4 separate regions of the Homo sapiens genome follow, and regions 2, 3 and 4 are each linked to region 1. The links are contacts of gene promoters, found by promoter capture Hi-C in blood cells and fetal thymus (Javierre and others, 2016). All regions are on one chromosome and are shown on one strand. Each heading gives the region's core, a stretch centred on a gene start or on the middle of the fragment in contact. The rest is flanking DNA. Distances are from core to core; before and after follow the strand shown.

The links. Contacts are between HindIII fragments. The CHiCAGO score rates a contact against its expected background, and 5 or more counts as called.
Region 2: a fragment that was not itself captured here is called in contact with the fragment with the promoter of LMOD3 in region 1 in 1 of 17 cell types (monocytes); the score reaches 5.8 in monocytes.
Region 3: the fragment with the promoter of MITF here is called in contact with the fragment with the promoter of LMOD3 in region 1 in 3 of 17 cell types (fetal thymus, M1 macrophages and monocytes); the score reaches 6.0 in fetal thymus.
Region 4: a contact is called between a fragment that was not itself captured here and the fragment with the promoter of LMOD3 in region 1, in 1 of 17 cell types (endothelial precursors). The highest score is 5.4, in endothelial precursors.

What each region holds. Positions count from the first base shown.
Region 1 is chr3:69,121,136-69,124,238 of GRCh38, forward strand. It overlaps LMOD3 (leiomodin 3), which reads right to left and starts at 1,460. Exons shown (of 3, transcript NM_198271.5): 1 at 958-1,460. The coding sequence starts at 1,251. RefSeq lists an enhancer at 315-1,514. The HindIII fragment of the contact is 5,880 bases long and covers 1-3,103 here.
Region 2 is chr3:69,840,149-69,843,251 of GRCh38, forward strand. All of the region lies in intron 1 of MITF (melanocyte inducing transcription factor), which reads left to right. Among named protein-coding and RNA genes, the nearest start is that of MITF, 100 kb to the left of the region's middle. The HindIII fragment of the contact is 886 bases long and covers 961-1,846 here.
Region 3 is chr3:69,737,970-69,741,072 of GRCh38, forward strand. MITF (melanocyte inducing transcription factor) reads left to right here and starts at 1,495. Exons shown (of 10, transcript NM_001354604.2): 1 at 1,495-1,732. The coding sequence starts at 1,629. RefSeq lists a promoter at 1-1,631 and a silencer at 1,431-1,730. The HindIII fragment of the contact is 10,451 bases long and covers 1-3,103 here.
Region 4 is chr3:69,652,065-69,655,167 of GRCh38, forward strand. No RefSeq gene overlaps it. Among named protein-coding and RNA genes, the nearest start is that of MITF, 86 kb to the right of the region's middle. The HindIII fragment of the contact is 2,685 bases long and covers 299-2,983 here.

The DNA.
Region 1 (3,103 bases), core at 210-2,709:
GTTTTTACCCCCTGAAACTGGCATTCACATAGAATTGGCTTTTCATCCATTGATCTCCAGTTGTAAAAAATCTGCAAATTGTACCTTGAACTCTAACCTGATCAATCCAGCTGTTTCTTTTCTTAATCTTAGCACATGTTTAAACTCTACTGACTGTAAAACCAATTGACAACTTTCCTTAATTACAGCCAGCTTCAGAGTAATTTAACAAGATGTATCTTTGTAAACAGGCATAACCTAAAGAGACTTTACCTAGGAGGCATCTCTGTCCTCTTTTTGTTAAGTCATTTTCAAGTGGAACATAAAAAAAAAAATTATGCTCATGCACAGTAAGTTTGCAGAGTTAACAATTCTAGCTTTCAGGTTTTAGAAAGTGAAGAACTAGCTTCAAAACCACTTAATAGCCATCGATTTCTAAATGTCATCACTGACAGCCAATACATAGTAATAATATAAGACATTTTCTGGTTATTCGACTTGGTTTAATTGCAGGTTGTGTGGCCAGACTTCAGGAGGACTGAAATGTTTGACACTGTGTGCGAAACACTGCGTATGTTTGGATGTGCCAGAGAGACAGAGGCTACAGAGCTGTCATTACTTTCTCAAAGGGGCCTGCAATAAAAAAGAAAGAGAGAGGTAAGGACAACTGCCTCTGGGTTATGAGTTAAGTCACTAAGTATCGTGGCAATAGAACACAGGCTTTCTGACACAGCAAACCCGACAGCAATTTTTAAAAAGAGACATTTGCAAGAAATTACCCAATTTTCCCCTTGTAAATATAAATGTGTTTCAGAAAGTTCCAGTCGGAGTAGGATTAAATATTATGGTTTAATCTAGATATGGCAAAAACAAAGCAGAACCAAACCCTGGAGTCTTGAGAAATCACAGTTACAACAGAGAGACCTAACAGCCCATCCCAGGCAGCCATTTCTCGGTTGTACACAAATCTCTGGTTACCTCGGATTTCACAAAGGTGACAGGAACTCGTTCCTCTTCCAGCATGCGCCTGGATGCCTTTTCCCAATACATATAATCAACAAGAGATTTATGATTGAAGTTTCCTGTCGGTGGCTTGTCAGTTTGATCTTTCTGAATCATTCCCACGGGAAGGCTGGGGTCAGGGGCCATGACTTCCATTTCCGACTGCAGTTCTTTCAGTTCTTCAGCAGACAAGTTGGCCAAGATTTCATCTTCATTAATCTCCTCATCGAGAAGTTCTTCTTGATCTGAATTTCTGCTGTGCTCTGACATTATTTTTTCTAAATATTATTTTACTAGAAAAGAAGAATAATCAAAGATGATTTTTAAAAAGAAGGAAAAAAGCCTCAAGAAGGTCCCCCAGTTAACGAGTGTCCCAAGTTAACACACCCTTGAGATATTTTTTTTTTTTTCCCAGGAACCTCAGTGGTTTGCTGAGCAGCTAGGAGTGATCACAGCTAAGCTCTTGCCGGATCTATATTAAGCAGGGCTTGGCTGGATGGGGTCAATTTATGGAACAACTATGCTGCTCTCTTTTTGGCAACTTGAGTCAGCTGCGCAAATCCATCTGACATTTCAGTACAGCTGCTATGTTTGCCAGAGACTAGCAGAGACTACAGAATCTCTGCAGGAATAAAATTAATTATCTTCCTATATGCCATCATATTGCCATACACAAATTCATGCAGCTCATACATACATACCCCAATACTCCAGGGGATTCCACTTGTTTTTATTTAAATATTAAAGCAACTTACAATATTTCAGAAGGGAAATCCAACCAGCAACCTGAGTTGTTTCTGAAGTAAAGAATTCACTTGAAGGTAGAAATCAAGCTCTTAGGGTCTGCCTCTTCCCTACAAGGTGAGTGTGGAAGCAAATAAAGTGGTGCACAGTGGAACAGAGGTCTTGCTATGTCACTCATCCTCTGTGTAAGCCGAACCTTTGCAAGATGTCCTGTTTGCATCTAGATCCTGTGATCTAACAGATGGGGACAACCAGCACTTGGATTTCCACTATAAGTGAGTTTAATATTTTAAATTATTTGCTTTTCTTATTAAGTATCCATTAAGCCAATATCAATGAAAATGGCTCTAAAGTGAAGTGTTAAAAAAGAAATCCAGACCACTAATATACTAAAAGAAACTATGAGAAGATTTTGTTTTCAAACCCTGAAGGGGCAATATGCAACATTTGTCCAAATTACAAATGCCCATTTCCTTTGACCCAGCAATTCCACTTTGAGAAGTGTATCCTACAGATATACCCCTACATGGGTGAAACAACGTGTGTACAAGGTTACACAATATAGCAAAGTACAAAACAGTGTGTTTTACATGCCATTATTTGTGTGACAAAGGGTACAATAATATATAATATACAAGTTTTATTATATATATATTTAAGACAGGGTCTGGCTCTGTCACCCAGGCTGGAGGGCAGTGCTGCGATCTCAGCTCACTGCAACCTCTGCCTCCCAGGATCAAGCTGGGACCACAGGCATGCACCACTACACCCAGCTAATTGTATTTTTTGTAGAGACAGGGTTTTGCCATATTGCTCAGGCTGGTCTCGAATTTCTGAGTTCAAGCAATCCACCTGCCTCGGTGTCCCAAAGTTCTGGGATTACAGGCGTGAGCCACCGTGCCTGGCTCGTAAATATATTCTTATTCCGAAATATACATTCATTGTACAAGAGTTAGGATAACATAGAAAGGCACAGAACAAAATCTTCCCCTTACCTCACTGTGAAGCTACCACTATTAACATTTCAGTTTTTTCATTCCAGTCCTTTCTTTTAGGCATACAAACTCTATCATTTTTTCTCATCTGTTTTTTTGACTGAGAAAGTCAGGATTCTTTTTTTCTAGGCAACTGTGTACTCTACTACTAAATAATTTTTTATTGCCCTCTGTTAGGATTCTTTATATGGATGTACCATAATTTGTATAACCAATCCTCAATTGTTGGATATTTAGAATGTTTTCAATTCTCACAAGCACAAATAGTTCTTTAATAAATATCCCTATACCTAAATAGTTTATAAACACACAAGTTTATTTCTTTAGAGTAAATTGAACAAATTCTAAAAAGTGAAATTGCTAGGTCACAGAATACGAAGAAA
Region 2 (3,103 bases), core at 154-2,653, 720 kb after region 1:
TAGACCTTACTTCTGGTCCTCCTTGCAAGGGTGGTCATCTGTCCTCTGCTGTGAGATCTTCTTTGGTAGAAATGTGATGGGGTTTGCTTTCACCCCTTCTCAAAAGGCTGTGCCAGGAACACTTCTATGGGCACAATAAGGTGAACCACTGTGAGGTTTGAGAAAATTAATTGCCCGGGGTGAGCTGGAACACTTAATCCATCGTGTCACATATACACAGAGGTCTTTGAAAGGGACAGGAGTCTTGATGGAAGGCTCAGCTACCATCCAGACATTGTTAGAATAAGAAGACAATTGCTCCTTTCAATGAGAGAAAGGGAAGAATAAAATGTGATGGAGATTGGCACCTCGGAAAGGGAAGAATAAAATGTGGTGGAGATTGGCACCTCTTCTGCCATTCTTTAACCTCCATAATGACTTACCAAAGAGCTTTTTTTAAAAAAAGAGATCGACAGGAAAATTAATTATCAATGATTTCAGAGCAGATTATTAGATATGTGAATTATCCAGCCTCTTTGGATTTTGTCCTGTTGTCATCATTTGTCAGTATTTCTCAACATGTCATCGAAAGGTGATTCAGGATGAAGCACAAAACTGTTTTTTTCTCTTTTTTTTTTTTTTTTGAAACAGAATCTCACTCTGTCACCTAGGCTGGAGTGCAGTGCTGCGATCTCAGCTCACTGCAACCTCTCTGCCTTCTAGGTTCAAGCAATTCCCGTGCCTCACCCTTCCGAGTAACTGGGATTACAGGTACATGCCACCATGCCCAGCTAAGTTTTGCATTTTTAGTAGAGATGGGGGTTCACCATGTTGGCCAAGCTGGTCTTGAACTCCTGGCCTCAAGGGACCCACCCACCTTGGCCTCCCAAAGTGCTGGAATTATGGGTGTGAGCCACCACACCAGGCCTCTAAACTGCTTTTTACTCCTAGTTGTGTGTTGCCAGTTCAGAAACTTAATTAAGCTTATGGAATGACAGACATATTTCACCTTTTAGTAGATGAGAATACATTCAAGACTAGGCTTAAGTACATATATCTTCGATGTAATTTATTAAACCCTTAAATCCATATTCACACATACAAAATAATCAGATCTTAAAATAATTATTGGAAGAAAGAAGAGGGAAAAATAGTAGGCAATCTTCATGACACTTTAATGTGTATGTTTACTGCTTAAAATGTTCAAACACATCTTTGTTTTGTATAGTTAATTTTGGTGGTATAATATTTGAAAAGGTGATAGATAAAAAGTGCAGGATGCAATTCTTGAAGCTGTAATTTGCAGGACACTAATAATACAAGTCCATTTTCTTTTCTGAGTGTGCTATTTATACAATTTATATTTTTAACAAATCTTAGAACTGGAATGAAAATAGTAATTCATCTTAAGGGTAAGAAAGGTTGCAGCTGTGCCAAATTTGGAAACTTTAATCAGTCCTCTTAGTGCTTAAGCACAGACTATGGAATATTCTAATTTGTATGTCACAGAGCACAGTGCTCAGCAGAAAGCATGCACTATCTTAAATTAATGTTAATTAATTAATGTTAAATGATTGAGTCAATTTGGCAGTACTTCTTTTCGTCTCTGAAAAGAAATCATATTTAATTTAGAAGTGGCAGGTCAATTTTAAAGCCAAGCTAAAATAAGTAGGTCAAGTGAAATTGTGCACAGGGCAGGGATAGTGGTGTTATATGTACGAAGAAAAAAGACTGAAAGGAAAAATATCAAAATGTTTACCTGTGAAGATGATGAATAATTTGTTTTTTATATATTTTTGTTTGCCTTTAGTTTACCACAGTGGGCAAATACATTCTTCGGAGCAGTATACTTTCATGACATATGTTAAGCTTTACATAACTCTTTGTTAAATCTCCCGTTGATGAATTAATAGTAAACATGATACCTATCAAATATGAAGTGAGCGGTGTCCTCTGTAGTTGGGCAGCATAGTAGCTTTGAGTGGAACTTACATTCTAGCAAAATTCATTTTTTCAAATAAGATTTTATGTAAAATCCAAGTATAGTCAGTTCTGCTATAACACAACATATGTGTTTCTAAAAAATCATCAGGCTACTCCAAAATCATGCAGTAGACAACACACGATGTATAGGAAAAATGGGGCTAGGAGCACAATGCTAAAAAATTTCATCAGTGACATCTGAAAAAAGAAAAGATAGGAAGCTAATAAACACAGTAGACAGATTTATACCCTTTAATTTAAGCGATACATTAATACAACAACAAACTTGTTACTTTGCTTTGAATAACACCTGGATTTTGCTTGTAGAAGTGGCTTCAGAAGAGTTGCAGCTGGTGAGTTATTATGCAGTGGTAGAAGGAAGCTTATCTGAAACTGGATCAAAAATTATAGCATCAGAAGTGAATGAGTGTGATGCATAACACTCTTAGTAAACGGAGGTAGCCGGTAGATGTTTGAAGTGTGTGCTTGGTGCAGCTGGGTGCAGTTTTCAGGGTGTTCACCTACTGTTTCTTGAAGACAGAATCACGCACAAGCAAACCAAAATTCTTGGGGGATATGCTCAAGTTGTTTACTGTGTAACAAATTTGCATTTCCAAAATCAACGTGATGGCAGAACTGACTGAGATGGATGAAAAAAAGCTGCACTAGCTCTAGGTATGTCAGGAGCCCAGTGTGGAACCCAACCTCCCCATCACCACCCCAGGGGTTCCACAGAGCACTGCTGTGTGGTGTAAACTTTATTTTGTTTGTTTGTTTGTTTGTGACCTGGAACAGACACAGAAAGTTATTTTTCTTGTGGAGAGTTTCGGTCCTACCTACATATCCTTCCCTGGCTGGAGTCTGGAGGTGTGCCAAGGGCTTTGGCATTGACAACTTTCAGTTCCACTGCCAGATGGGCTGTCCAGTAAAGCAAATGGCCTTGAACTGAAAACCCTATAGAATACCTCGCTCCAGGTCCTTGCCAGGGACTATAACCTTGAGTACTCAATGAGTACTCCGTAAGTACTCAATACTTATGAAATGCTGCTATGAAAAACCAATATCTATGGATTACAGTGTGAAGAACAGATGTTCATTTGTTTCTCTGGATACCCAACAACGAGGGAAGAAGGGTATGTTG
Region 3 (3,103 bases), core at 245-2,744, 620 kb after region 1:
TCTGAAAATTTGGTAATTGCTACTGCAACATAGTGTGCCTTCTGCACTTTTTCCAAATCACCTTGAGAACTCCAGCCCTAACATCGATCCATCCTACTGGATGTCTTTTCTGATGTGAAATTAAAATGTTTCAGTGGGAGGCAAGATATGCAAAGGGGTAACTCCTGGGAGGTGCCCAGTTGTCACTGTAGCCTCTTTAGAATTTTCTCCTAGGACAGTCATTTAGTTTATTAATTCTGAAAGGCCAAACACCAAAATGAGATGTTAATCTGAAAGGAATAACTTCAAGACCTAATAAAGAATGACCACTGAGCAGAGTTTTTATAGATTGCAAATCACTTTCTCTTACATTTGACCTTGCAACATCTTCTAAAACTGGTTTGCCAATCTCTTCTTTTATGGATGAAGAAATGGAGGCTTCTAGGAACCAAGTGACATGCTCAGGATTGCACAGCTCTTCTTAGAAGGACTGGGGATTTCAACTCTGAGTCTTATACCTTTAAATGCCACTGTAACTCTATACTGCCTCCCTGATGCCTCAAAACACTTTTGAAAAGAAGGAACACGTCCTACTGGAGCTAATCAGAGGGAAGAACTAGAAGTACAAATGAGCCACAACGGAGAGTTTTAAAATTCTCTTCCCTAAGTGAGTTCCGGGAAGCTCGGGAAGGGGTGGACACTTGTACAGTTCACTTGTACATCTTCACTCCTGAAATGCTAGGACAAATCTCATTTGAACTCCCAGTCAACTGAGAAATTAAAAGCAGAGAGCAACGACGCTATTTTGTAACTTTGTGCCTTTTAAAATTAACCGAATCTTTCAATTGCTGCTGTAGATTAGAAGTGGCTACTTGGATAAAGGGGAAAGAGCCATTCAACTGATGAATACTATTGTAAAAGTCCAGACTTAGTTCTAGAAAAGGAACGCACAAGAACAATTTCTCCAATAACGTTTTCATTACAGAGCGAAGGAAAGTTCTTCCTCGTTGTTCCAATCCGAGGACAAGCTGATATGTCGCAGCAGCCCAGGGAAGCATGCGAGCTGATAGGAAGTCCTTTTATTTTAAGACAGGCTCGAATGCTAAAACTTTCTTGTGCCAAAACCCTTGACTATTTTATTTTTAAAATAAGCACTTGGCGTGCCCTCGCAGATGTCTGAGCTGAGAGGTCGGGGCGATGGTAGAAGAGCAGTCAGTGTCCATTCTTATTCATATTAAGTAGCCAAGTCTGTACCCTTGAAGCAAGTGGGGAGAGAGGAGGGAGAGGAGCTGCTGACATTGACAATGAATCCAAACAGGAGTTGCACTAGCGGTGTCCACCACGTTGCCTCTCCCCCGCCTGGCCTTCTGGGAGCTGTAGTTTTCGTGGGAGCGGCTCCCCAGGCGAGCTGGGAATGCCCCGCCCGGGCCGAACTACAGATCCCAGGCGGCGCTCGGCCGCCAGCCCCTCCCGCCCGGGTGCGAGTGTAAACTCCCCGCGCTGGGGCGGGCGGCCGCGAGCCGGCGAGCGGGCAGAGCTCGGCACTGCGCCGGGGCGCACGGCTCGGGGGACCCAGGCCCAGCTACCTTCCCTCCGCCCCCGGGCTCTGTTCTCACTTTCCAGCAGTGGAAGGACGGGAAGCGGGAGCCATGCAGTCCGAATCGGGGATCGTGCCGGATTTCGAAGTCGGGGAGGAGTTTCATGAAGAGCCCAAAACCTATTACGAACTCAAAAGTCAACCGCTGAAGAGCAGGTGAGTGGTGACAGCTGGGCAGAGGCGCACCGGGCGGCTGGGGGGCACTGCGTCTGCCACTCTGGGGCGAGGAGAGCGGGTCGCGGGAGCTCTGGGACAAGGACCCAGTGCCCTTGCCCCGGAGCAGAGGGCGAACTGCCCCTCGCAGTTGGGGGCCGCGCCTGCCCGGCCCAAGTGCGCCTTTAGGAAGCTCGGATGGAGCGCACTTCGCGGGGGCGCGGCGGGTCGCCGGGGACGAAGCGTCCAGGCGCGGGGACCCTCGGCCGAGGATGCCAGCTGCTGAGACTGATTGGGGGCTGGGGAGCGACCTGGCGCGATGTGGGGGAGGAGGAGCGCCGGGCCGGGACGCTGTCCCGGTGGGATGGGGGAGAAAGAGTTCTAGTGAACCCCCTTTCTGAAGATCCCAGCGGGTTGAGGGCTCGGAGAGGGAGAGCTTTGGGTGGACTGAGATGCGACATTGGAGGGAAGCAATTAGTTCGCTTGGAGTCACCTCTTGGGAGTCCGGTCTCTGTGGGGAAACTAGCCTCTGGGCTCCTGCAGGTGAGGTTTCTCTGGGCTCCGCCTCTCACCTCCAGACCGCTGCTAGCGGGCGCGGGAGGGGCCAGGGCAGCGGTGGGCGTGTCCCCTTGTTCAAGTTAAACTCTCTGGAAATAGAGTCCCATTCAAATCCAGGCCTTACCTGCAGAGGGGAAATGAGCCTTGGTCTTGGGGGTTACTGGGAGTGTACCCCGCTTGGCAGAGACACGTGTTTAATTCGCTGGGGACTTCAGAAACTTTTTAGACGAGGAGTGAAGACATCCACTGCTCTGATGCCCCATCCCCTCTAGTGCCCACTTCCCTTGAGCCACCCTTTTTGCTGCCTCCATTCCCACTTGTCTGTCGAAATGGATTGGGTGTCTTCCGTTCTCTCTGTCCGGCAGCCACTCTGGACGCCTCGTACTTCTCGTTTACAATGTTTCCTAAAAGGGACATGGTCAATGGAGGCTGGAATAGCTGAGAAGGGTTTATTTCCACCCCTCTAAGCTGTGAGCTAGGATAAGGCTATCATTGGAAGCATCCAGCAGGGCTTCTGCACTCGGCTGTAACTTCCTGCCTTGCCCTTCGCTGTGGATGGGGCCTGGGTGAATGGGCCTGGCTGGCAGAGTGGGAGAGGGTCTTGAAATGAGGGTGAGTGGAGAAGGGCAACTGAACGGGGAGCCAAGTGGTGTAATCTTGGCCTCTGGCGAGCACTGGGCTGGTTCTTTTTCTAGTGGAAAGTGCAGCCAGGTTTATTTCCTTCAGGGCTGTGGCAGGACTCTTTATCCAAGTTGGGGAAGAAAATCTGGGAACAGCGGTCCTACTGACTGCCATTGCTGAAGACTCTTTGTAGAT
Region 4 (3,103 bases), core at 391-2,890, 530 kb after region 1:
ATTTTCCCTGGAATGTTGCTGGGTTTTGGATTCTGATTCAGCTTCAGAAGGCTGGGATCCCACAGAGCATTAGAAGGACTGGTGTGATAAGAACAAGATCATCTATTAAGCACCTATTACATACTGGTGTGATGCTGAGGACTTTGCATTCATTACATCTGCTACGGTTTGAATGTAGTGTCCCCTTCAAAATTCATGCTGAAACTTAATCCCCATTGTGGTGGTATTAAGAGTTGGACCCTTTTAGGAGGTGATTGAGTCATAAGGGTGGAGCCCTCATGAACGCCCTTATAAAAGAAGCTTTAGAGAGAGTTTGCCTCTCTTGTTCTTCTGCCTTCGGCCACTGAGGACACAGCATCAAGGTGCCATCTTGAAAGCAGAGAGCAACCCTCACCAGACAGCAATGCCAGTGCCTCAATCTGGTACTTCCATCCTCTAGAACTGTGAGAAACAAATTTTGATTCTTAATAAATTCCTCAGTCCTTGGCATTTTGTTATAATAATGCGAATGGACTAAGACAACCTCATATGACTCTTTCACCTACCCTGCAAATGAGGCAGTTGTATGCCCTTTTGATAAGGCTAGGAAATTGTGGGTTCAGAGAGACAAAACTTTTCCCAAGAGACACATAATGTTCTCTAAGATTGTACAGCCAGTATGACATAGACCTGGGATTCAAATCTAAGATTAGATTTTAAGTGCAATTTATGTGTCTCTTCAGTGGCCAAATATCTGCACTTGCTTCTTCTGGTTAAACATAATTTGCTGTCTGACATCCTTATCTCAGCCACTGACCCCTGAGTCATCTCCCTTCTCTATCCCCTTTCTCACTGCCAACATGTAATGGGCTTGCAAGATGGAATGCCTCCCCTACTACCTGTCCCTTCTAGGGAATCCCTACCCTTAAATATTCTTTATGCAGGAATTCAAAACTACATGTTGACCAGATAATCCCAATCATGGATTGGGAATAGACAGTTCATCTAAGAGTAGCCAACCAATAGCAGGCTGGCAACCTGTGGGGTGAGCTACTGTGAAGCCTCATGCATTGCCATGTGCTGTGGCTCAGGCCTATAATTCCAGTTACTCAGGAGGCTGAGGTAGAAATGCTTGAGCCCAGGAGTTCAAGGCTGCAGTGACCTATGATCATCCCACTGCTCTCCAGCCTGGGCAACAGAGCAAGACCCAACTCTTTAAAAAAAAAAAAAAAGGCCAGGTGCAGTGACTCATGCCTGTAATCCCAGCACTTTGCGAGGCCGAGGTAGGTGGATCACCTGAGGTCAGGAGTTTGAGACCAGCCTGACCAACATGGTGAAACCCTGTCTCTACCAAAAATACAAAAATTAGCTGGGCATGGTGGGACGCAACTGTAGTCCCAGCTTCTCCGGATGCTGAGGCAGGAGAATCGCTTGAACCCCGGAGGTGGAGGTTGCACTGAGCCGAAATTGTGCCACTGCATTCCAGCCTGGGCAACAGAGTGAGACCCTATCTTAAAAAAAAAAAAAAAAGAAAGTTTGATGTAGGCAGATATGATGGTTACTAATAAGTTTCATTCTCTTTCTTTTACTTTCTACCCCACCCCATCCCTAGGGATTCAAATGATATGAAATAGTAAGATACAGAGATGGTGTTGCTAGTCACTTTTAGGAACAGAAACACAAAGATGTCCAGAGAAAGGCCATAAAGAATTTGGGGTCATGAGGAAAGCAAAGGTATGAGTTAGCAGAGGCTATGGAATGATGGGCATAGAAGGAAGTTCAGTATAACAGCAAGAGATCCATCTGTTTCCGTTGCTGATGGTACAGCTGACTGCCTTAAATCCTAAATAAGCTGTCCATGACACCTGAGAAATCCTATCCCAACACTGGGATTCCTACTCTTTTGGTGCTTACCTTTACTTTCACTTAAATCTGATTACTTGGAGTAATATGTTGAGTTTGTGGGATTATCCATGATTGCATTCACAGATCTAAACAGACAGTGGAACCTAAAGAAAAAAAAAATCCAGGGCAAAAGGAAGGTGACTCCCAACTTGAGAAAAATTTTTATTTTTTCCATTCAGCTCTATTCAGAATGCTAAAACATAAATATAAATCTAGATAGAGAAACATTTCCTAACGTTAAGTTAAACAGATCCCTGGAGTTGACAGAGAACATTAACCTACTCCAAATCTTTACCTAATCCATTAATCTCACATAAACACCCAACAAGTCTTCTTGTCTGTGTTTGAATACTTCACCAATGAGGATCTCCCTCTTGTGCTATAATTGCCAGGAGGTTTCAATACCTAAAACTTTTGCCTAACAAGCAACTAAGATAAAAACAACATAACACAGAATAACATATTTCTAACACTTCCAAACGACAAATATTTCTTTATTGTGCTTGGCATGAGAGTGAGCAAGACAGGTGGAAATCCTGTCTTTCTGGGGTTTACATCAGCCTTTTCAAATTTTTATTTTGAAAAATTTTGAACATACAGAATAGTAGAGAGAATAGTGTGATGAACACTTATGTTCCATTATCCAATTCAACAATTAAGAATGCACAGCTCTTTCTGTTTCATTTTTATGCCTTTTCCCCTAAGTCTCCCTACCACCCTGCTGAATTATTTTAAGATAAATCCCAGGTGTCATATCATTTCGGCATGTGTTTCTAACAGATAATGACTCTTTTTTCTTCATGTAACCACAATATTGTTATTCACACTTGAAAACATTTAACAGTGATTTTTTAATATCATCTAATTTCCAGTCAGTTTTTTTCTTCAAATTTTTCTTTTTGTATTAAAAATATCTTTTTACAGTTGGTTTGTTTGGAGTTTTACATTACAATGAAACATGCTCTTTGAACAAAAACACAGCTAAATCTTGATATTTTATTCCATATATGTAGTTAAACCTACCTGGAAGACTACCGATTCTATAAAATGTATAGATTTAAACAAAACCAGTAGCTATTTTTTTTCCTCTACTTTCAGAAGCTTATCTTCTAGAGGATTTTTTATTTTTTATTTATTTTTATTTATTTATTTATTTTTTGAGGCGGAGTCTCGCTCTGTTGCCCAGGCTGTAGTACAGTGGCCTGATCTTGGCTCACTG